Linked DNA regions of Homo sapiens: region 2 is linked to region 1. Evidence: promoter capture Hi-C in 16 types of primary human blood cells and fetal thymus (Javierre and others, 2016). All regions are on one chromosome and are shown on one strand. Each heading gives the region's core, a stretch centred on a gene start or on the middle of the fragment in contact. The rest is flanking DNA. Distances are from core to core; before and after follow the strand shown. Region 1 holds the start of RIOK2 (RIO kinase 2). Region 2 overlaps CHD1 (chromodomain helicase DNA binding protein 1).

Region 1 (4,253 bases), core at 1,754-4,253:
AAGTGATAAGTGCTTAAAAAGGTAGCTCAGGGCAGAATAAGAATACTTCTAGCTGAGGGATCAGTTCCAAGGAAGATGCAAAACTAGAGACTGACTTTTAAAAGATGTGGGCATACAGAGAAAACAGACAAGGGGATATTAGTGAAAGAAAAAGATTTGAAAATGGCACATATGCAAGAAAGTACTGACCACAGAGAATAGCTGAGTACAGTAGCAGCTCAGATGGGATAGCATATAGAATTCATGCAAACGCGGCTGGAAGATACTTCTAGGATAGAGAAGGCATTAAAATGTAGACCAAATACTTTTATATTTTATCCTGATGAGAGCAGGAAGCTCTTGAAGATGTTTAGGCGTGGGAGACACACGAACAGGGTTATTTTAAGGACATTAATGTACCAGGAATATGCAAATTGGCTTAGAGATGGCAAAATCTGAGGGGGTACTCCGGAGAACTAAGACAGAAGTCCAGCTCAGAGGAAAGAGCCACCAGAACAGGGTAAGTGGTAGTGGTACTGGAAGGAAGGAATAAAAATCTTTAGGAAGTATTATGGGAGAGCTTGGCAATTAGATGTGGAAGGGTAAAGGGAACGGAAAGCCACAATTGGAAGTGATGAGGAAAAGCAAGTTTTAAGATTTTATTATTTTTTTTTTTTATAGAGCTTGGGAAAAGAGAAAGGGGGTAGAAAAAAATTGAATTTGGTTTGAGCACTGAGAGTCAAATAAAAATGTTTAAAGGAAAACTGGAGGCCAGGTGCAGTGGCTCACACCTGTAATCCCAGCACTTTGGGAGGCCAAGGTGGGTGGATCACGAGGTCAAGAGATCGAGACCATTCTGGCCAACATGGTGAAACCCCATCTCTACTAAAAATACAAAAATTAGCTGGGCGTGGTGGTGTGCGCCTATAGTCCCAGCTACTTGGGAGGCTGAGGCAGGAGAATCGCTTGAACCCAGAAGGTGAAGGTTGCAGTGAGCTGAGATTGTGCCACTGCACTCCAGCCTGGCAACAGAATAAGACTCCGTCTCAAAAAAAAAAAAAAAAGAAAGAGAGAAAATTAAATAGGAAAGGGGCCTATATTTAGGAATGAAGTTATAATTAGAAGGAAAAATTGTCAATTATTTTATAGAAGTGAGAGTTGAAGATGTGAAGTGGATGCTATCACTGAGCAGGAGATAATGGAAGAAAAGGAATGTTTGGGAGCAGAATTCTGGGGCAAGTTCATATTGAAAGCTAAGGGCAGCTAGTCAAACAATGATTATTGATATAGGAGGAGCCAAAGAAGTAAAAGGGAAGAGAGGCCCAAGAAAGGGTACCAACACTGGTGAGATTCAACTGAGACCGGAATGTCATATTTAATGACTAAGTCATTTCTTGGTGAACTTTACAAATAATTTAAATATTGCAGCGCCAATGTTTTGGAAGATAAATCTGGCATCATTTTGATGTCTCACCAAAACCTTAACTTTTAAATTTAACTTATTTTCCATGCTTTGTCTCTGCCTCCCCCGTCCTCTAACACTCTTACTTTTGACCCCTACTTCTGTCAGAGACACTAAGGAATGAGTGTGCTGAGAAAGCAGGAAAGGAAGGTATCTTTCCGAAGTGATAGTAGGTTTTCATAGAGAAAGTCCAGCTGATTAGAAGAATCTACATGAGAGGCAAAGTAAACATTGTCTTCCAAATTTCACACTGATTTTGCATTTGATAGTTTAATACTTAAGCGCTATTTAAGATTAATTTTAAAAATCCAAAACTTGAAGCCTTAACATAATGCAAGAACCAGTGTGACTCACATCGCATATCCTATTACATAATTACACAATATAGGTAGTCCTTATCATGGGGTTCACTCCTTACCAAAAGATAACGGCTCCTAAATAAATGTACAAATGTCTTGATCTATATATTAATTTCTGTGCCATAAGACTGAGGCCATAAAATCAGATTTTGTTACTCCCCTGATTAAAAACATTTAGTGGTTACCCCCACATTCTTTACCAAACCTCCAAGGCTCTGTAGTACATAATTTCTCACCTTTTCCGCTACATCTCCAACCATTAGTGTGCATCTCACTTTGCTCCAGCCACATTACATTGGCCTTTCCTCTCTTCAAAGACTTTTCTGTCTCAAGGCCTTTGCACTTACTACTGCTGTTTCCTCTGCCTCCAACTCTTTCCAAGGACTTCACTGGGCTGTCTCTTTCTCACACAGCTCCTATTATTCCCCCATTCATTCTTTCATTTAGTGAATATTTATTGATTGTCTACCAAAGGCCAATAACTTGTGCCCCTCCTCTCCACCAGATACATATACTTTCTATGCCATTATCCTTTATCATTTTCATAGCATTTATCCATTATCCTATTTTTCGTTTACTTGATGATCTGTGTCTCTCTCTCCACTTGTCTGTTTGAACAAGTGAACCTCCTAATGTTGCTACTAAAAAACCGACAAATATGTGTTGACTGAATGAATCAGAAAGACTGCTATGCGACTGAGTCTGTTAGTAGGGAAGTCAATATTATCAAATCTCGGGGGGGGGGGGGGGCTTAAACCTTTCACAGCTGGTCGGAAGCTCAGGATCAGAGAAGTTTCCAGGCCACAGAGATGCAAGCGTTTCTCTTCAGCGCAAAGCGAATAGCAGCAGAAAAGAAAACAATTATTAGAAGACGGGACCTTTGCTCTATCTGGGGGAAGGTAAGCTCCCAAACAAAACCTTTTTAAAAATCCGACTTTCTGAATGCTCTCTTCTCCATTCCCAGCTTCTGCCACGTCCCGGGTCCCAGAGTGTGCCTGCTCAGATCCCAGAAAACTTGCAGGAACAGGAAGAGGTCACACAGTGTTAAGGGGAAGGGAGAACAGGAACGGCGGGTTTCTTACCGCGGTCAAGACCCTGAAGTCATCTCGGCTCATGTAACGCAACTTGGCCACATTCACTTTCCCCATGGCGGCCCCAGTCCGAACCCAGATGCCTCTCCGACGACAGCCGCAAAGCGTAAGGCAGGTCGTTATTCCAGCCTCTAAGCGCTTTACAGCGCCAGATGGCTCGCGCACGCGCTGCGTCTTAGTATAGGTCCTTGTTAATAGTTAGAAGTGCTGTTCTCATTGATATAGGAAAATAAAACTACTTGTATGTCTTATGAAACACATAGTATGTAACAAGTGAACGTTTTATTTTTGTGTAATTTTTGCGTTGTGACTGAGTTGGCGGAGTGTAGATATTCTCTACAATGTGCCTTTTTTTTTCCATATCTGTCAGGACTTGCTGCCTCAATGACACGTTCCGCCTCAGAGAGCAAAGTGGTTACTTAATGGGAGGAGCAAATTTTTCCCGCAAACAACTTCTACTCTAGGCAAAGTGACTTCCAACAAGACAGGGGTAAAAGAACCTGAGCTAGAGTCCAGACAACCAAATCTGTTAAAGGTAAAGTGGACTGTAATCACACAAGCACGCCCTCTACTCCTAATTGCGCCTGCTCCGGCAGCTCCGGAGGGCGTGGTTAATGGAACTCATGCGCTTGCTCAGTACTTCTCTTAGGTTGGTCTAGGAGGCTTCGAAGTGCGCCTGCGCTGGTTGGGGTGGGAGTTTAAGGTGACACGTGGAGAGCGCGGCGGACGTCCTTACCTCCAGAGGAAGTGGGGATTTTGATAGTTCGGGCTGACCTACGCGGGTAGGACTTCGAGGGCCCAGGAGCGATTTAAGGATTTTAGAATAGTTACCCATACTGGCTCTGCAACTCCTCGATATTCAAGCCTTTGTCTGCTTTTTACTTGAATGCAGCATGTCTTTGATTAACCATCTTCAACCAATGAACATCTCCATTTAAACGGAATTTTTCTTTCTGTACTTACATAAGAAGGCATAGAAATGAATTTTTTTTTTATTTTTGAGACAGAGCCCGGCTCTGTCACCCAGACTGAAGTACAGGGGCGCGATCTTGGCTCACTGCAACCTCTGCCCTCTAGGTTCAAGGGATTCTTCTCCCTCAGCCTCCTAAGTAGCTGGGATTATAGGCTCACACCACCACGCCCTGCTAATATTTTTATTTTTAGTAGAGATGGGGTTTCGCCCTGTTGACCAGACTGGTTTCAAACTCCTGGCCTCAGGTGATCCGCCCCCCTCAGTCTCCCAAAGTGCTGGGATTACAGGCATAAGCCACCGCGCCTGGGCGAAAAGTTTTTAAAAAAACCAAGTGACTAACTTTATTTGTACAAATTTATGGGGTACGTGAGAAATTTTGTTACAAGTAT
Region 2 (4,253 bases), core at 1,094-3,593, 1.7 Mb after region 1:
ATGCAGCAGAAAATTACAGGAGCCCACATATCCTTTTTCTTAAATTTAATTTGTCATATATAACGTTTTTATATACAATCAGTGTGCATTGTAACAGTTTATATTAAAAGTCAATCAAGTTTATCTAAAATGTTAACCTGGCTGCATAGCACATTTGACATTATTGCCCACATAAAACGGGAAAACAAACGGATTTACAATAACTTTTGGCCGTTTTGGATTCTGAAAAGTGTTTATACACCTACCCTTTTAAACCAGATGCATCTGAAAAAAGTGTTTCCAGAGCATGCAGTTTAGATTTTACATATCTCGCCATTTTTTAAAACTACAAACACAATATTGACTAAAAAAGGAAAAAAAAGGGAATAACATGTATCTAATAAAATATTCAGTATAAAAAGAGGACTAATGGAATTAAGTGGCCCCTTTCCCCATTTTTACATTCTAAACAATGATTCCATCAAGACAAATCATTAAAAAGTGTTATTACACTGATTTTTTTTTTTTTAATAAGAAGGCCTGAGTTGGTAGGGAAAGGAACAGTCAAAAAAAGCCTGAGAAAGGGAAGGAAGTAAGGAAAGTTCCTTTAATATTTACAATAATTTACAGCCATTTTTTTTGTAAAAAGGCATAATAGATCACAAACAGGAAATTCCTGGCTATTTTACAGATATAAGTACAGAATTTAAATATTCAAGCTTGTGATGAAAAGCGGCAAGGTGGTCGCAGTGTACAATGTAAACAAGTAGCTTTGGAAATGAACAAAGTCCTTGAGTGTTTTTCTTTATTAAGAAAGAACTCTCTTTCATTCCTTCCTGAAACATGATCACAGGTCAGAGTAAAGTTCATATATAAACATAATTTAAATGGAGGTCAGTCTAAAATCACTGACTTAAAAACAGTTTTATCCAGCCTGTATGGGAGGGCAGTGTTGAGGTCCCTGTAATAGTAAACATTTTCCATTTCTTTAAAAAAGAAAACAAAAAAAAGTACTACAATTTTGTAGTACAGTGCAGCATAATCCTTAAATATAAAAATATTTTCTCTTCTGTTGGGATAATAGACCTTGCATCCTGGAAAGAAGTAACAATACTGCTACTGATAGAAGATCTGTTTATATCTTTCAAGTCATGTAAGGCAATTACTGTGTTGGTTTATGATATATGGCTAAAAGAAAAGTCCAGAAAGACGAAGTATCAGTTTTTGTTATGTTTTCCGACTACTCCAGGTATGCTCCGGTGTACTTTTGTGTTCAACTGAATGTTCAAATGGAGATCTGGAGCCATAAGGAGATCTCTGATCTAGTGGTGACCTAGGGCCACTGCTGGAAGCTCTGTGGTCCATTTGCCAGTCTGAGTGATACCTATAATCCCTGGAAGATTTATGGTGCGTATATTCAGAACTTGACCGGTGGTCTGAATGTAACCGATGATCTGAGTGAGAACGATGATCAGAATGAGATCTATCTTTTAAACTTCCTTCCAAATTTGACCTGTGATCTCTACTCCTGTGATCATCCAGTTTTCTGTGTTTCTCTCTGTCACTGTAATATCTAATAAAGAAAAATTGAGAATTTTAGACAAATCATGCAAATTAAAATGTTTCCAAATAAAAGATAACTAAAAAACATAAAAATACCTTAAAACATGTTTTTAATTGTATAGAAATTCAGTGTTGCATTATAAAACTTACTTAATTAACTCAAAAATCACTGGATATATCTCTTTGGAAAAACTATTTGATTCATAAAACTAAAGCGAACCATACAAAACCCCTAAAATAGCATCTAATTTCACATGGCTATTTTAGATAATTAGCTGCTTTTTATTTTACACATCATTTATATGACTGCATCTTAATTGTCTGGAAGCTGAAATTAAGATTATTACAACTATCTGAAATACTCCTGAGACCAGAGCCTTTTACCAACCTCTAAGCAGGAAAAAGTTTAAAAATGCTAGAATGCAGTCTATGCTGAAAAATTTTTCACTGGTTGCTGATGCCTATTAAAAGCTTCCTCAAGTTTGACTAGTTATATAGTAAGACTCGACACATGAATCATTACGAAATTTACTCCATACAAACATGTGACAGCTTGATAAAAAATAAATGTGGCAGTTTAATGAGAATTATTCTCTAAAATGAGTGCCTTTTCCAAACTGACACACACACAACTGTAACTATATTGCATAAGCCTGTGAAATATATACTATAAATCTGCCTTTTCCTTTTAATTATTTGACCCCTTCAAATAACAGCCATTCTACAACTGATGTGTTCATAGTGCTGACAGAGGTTCTCAAAGAAATTATTGTAATGAACACTAAAATACAAAGATGTCTTCTAATTTGTTTCTTCTACTTACTATAAAAGCATAAATACTATAAATCTCAGTTTTCAAGTTTACTTTTAGTAGTGATCATTAACTACCGAAAATACTTCTTTATCAATAAAGGAATAAAAAGTATTCTGATGTTATTACACTGAGGTTGCTTACTGTTCAAAGGCTTCAAAAAACAATAAACAAAAAACCTTCCTGGTTCCAATAATATTCCAGATTGCTGAGGTTAAGTTTTACCTCAATGAGATGTGTTCACATATATTAATTTTTCCCGACTTTTTAAAAATATGGAATGCAAAATTTCCTAAACCAAACCTGAATCACTATTATATCAAGCTTTTATCCCACTTATTATATTTTAAAGAGTATTTGAGCCAATATTCTTCAAAACGAACAATGAACCCCACGCAATTTATAATCATACAACTCCCTACATCACCTTACTACATATTTTGATCTCAATTTTATAATTCAAAATCCATTTTATAGAGAAATTCAGTTCTTAAAATATATACATTTTTCTTAATTATATACAACACCTTTATTTCACAAGATTTGTTTTGACTGCATGAAGATTGAATTGGCTGACAGGTCAAATACAGGAACATCATGATAAGGAGAAAAACATGCATAAGCAAAATTTCTAAAGTGACTGCCAAGTTTACCTGCTGTCTTGCTTGTAGTGATCCCAATCACGATGGTCTTTACCATTACTAAAAGAAGAATAGGGTCTTTTCCTGGAATCACTTTTTTTGTAAGAATCTCCCTGATGTCGGTCTTTATGATGATCATGGTACTGAGTTAAGTGTCTATCAGAGGAATAACTGTCCCTGCTGCTATCATCGTGATTTGTATTCTCTTTTAATCTTTCCACATCTGTTAGATAAGTACAACTTTTATTAATGACCTTAAAAATAATGTGGCAAAAAAAACTTAGTTGATAGATAACAAGAATTCGTTTCAACCCTTGCCAAAACAAAATCGGTTCCCAAATACAAGCAGTTAAAGCATTTAGAAATGGTGTATAAAAGCAGTACTAAGGATTAATTAAAAAAGGTTGCTTGATTCTGAAATGTCACAAAAACTAAAAAATATGGGACCTATTCCTTTCTCAGACTATACTTTTGTGACTCTGATACAGAAAGAATGCATTACTATTCCAAATTACATAAAAAAGAATATTTGTTCATTTTAACAGTCATTCTACAATTTCTAGAAACTGAGAAAAGGATGATTAAAAGGATAATAAACTAAAATGAACTACAGTTTAAGAGAATACATTTTACATAATAATGTAGGTATGTATCAGAATTACTGTATCTCCTTAATATAAAGGTACTTATAAATAAAAACAAGGTAAGAACCTTTTTTATCATTTGGTTTATTTAAAACAAAAATTTAAAAAAAATTTTTTTTAATTTATTTTCCCAATCAGTAAGGCTTACATACCTGGATTTCTAATCACGTGAGGATTCAAGTTGCTGTTTTGATCACTGTTTTGCTAAAATAAATGCACACGTGTTAAGAATCTTTAGGTGACTTCACAAACTTACAAAAAAGCACAGATAATTCTTAGAAAATACTGATAATGAAGTCTTCACACAAGATATTAGAATGTTTATGTGTGTATATATACATGTATGACATTTATAGATCTCCATTTTTAAAGCATGAACTACTTGTCCCATGACTTAAAGATATTTTTTCATTTTGAAATAAATTGACTTAACAGAAAGGTTGCAAAAATACTGAGTTCCCTTCATCTAGCTTCTCCTAATGTTAATATCTTATACAAACATAGTATAATGATCAAAACCAAATAATTAACATTGGTATAACACTATTAATTGAAGAACAGACTTCATTCAGATTTCACATTTTTCCACTAATGTTCTTTATCTGCTCGGGGATT

Evidence for each region. The method cuts DNA at HindIII sites, captures the fragments that hold promoters and counts their contacts. A CHiCAGO score of 5 or more calls a contact.
Region 2: a contact is called between a fragment that was not itself captured here and the fragment with the promoter of RIOK2 in region 1, in 1 of 17 cell types (naive CD4 T cells). The highest score is 6.3, in naive CD4 T cells.

The regions. Positions count from the first base shown.
Region 1 is chr5:97,180,244-97,184,496 of GRCh38, forward strand. RIOK2 (RIO kinase 2) reads right to left here and starts at 3,004. Exons shown (of 10, transcript NM_018343.3): 1 at 2,883-3,004. The coding sequence starts at 2,948. The HindIII fragment of the contact is 13,556 bases long and covers 1-4,253 here.
Region 2 is chr5:98,855,174-98,859,426 of GRCh38, forward strand. CHD1 (chromodomain helicase DNA binding protein 1) reads right to left here. Exons shown (of 36, transcript NM_001270.4): 34 at 3,791-3,842; 35 at 3,007-3,217; 36 at 1-1,552. The coding sequence ends at 1,207. Among named protein-coding and RNA genes, the nearest start is that of CHD1-DT, 71 kb to the right of the region's middle. The HindIII fragment of the contact is 664 bases long and covers 2,012-2,675 here.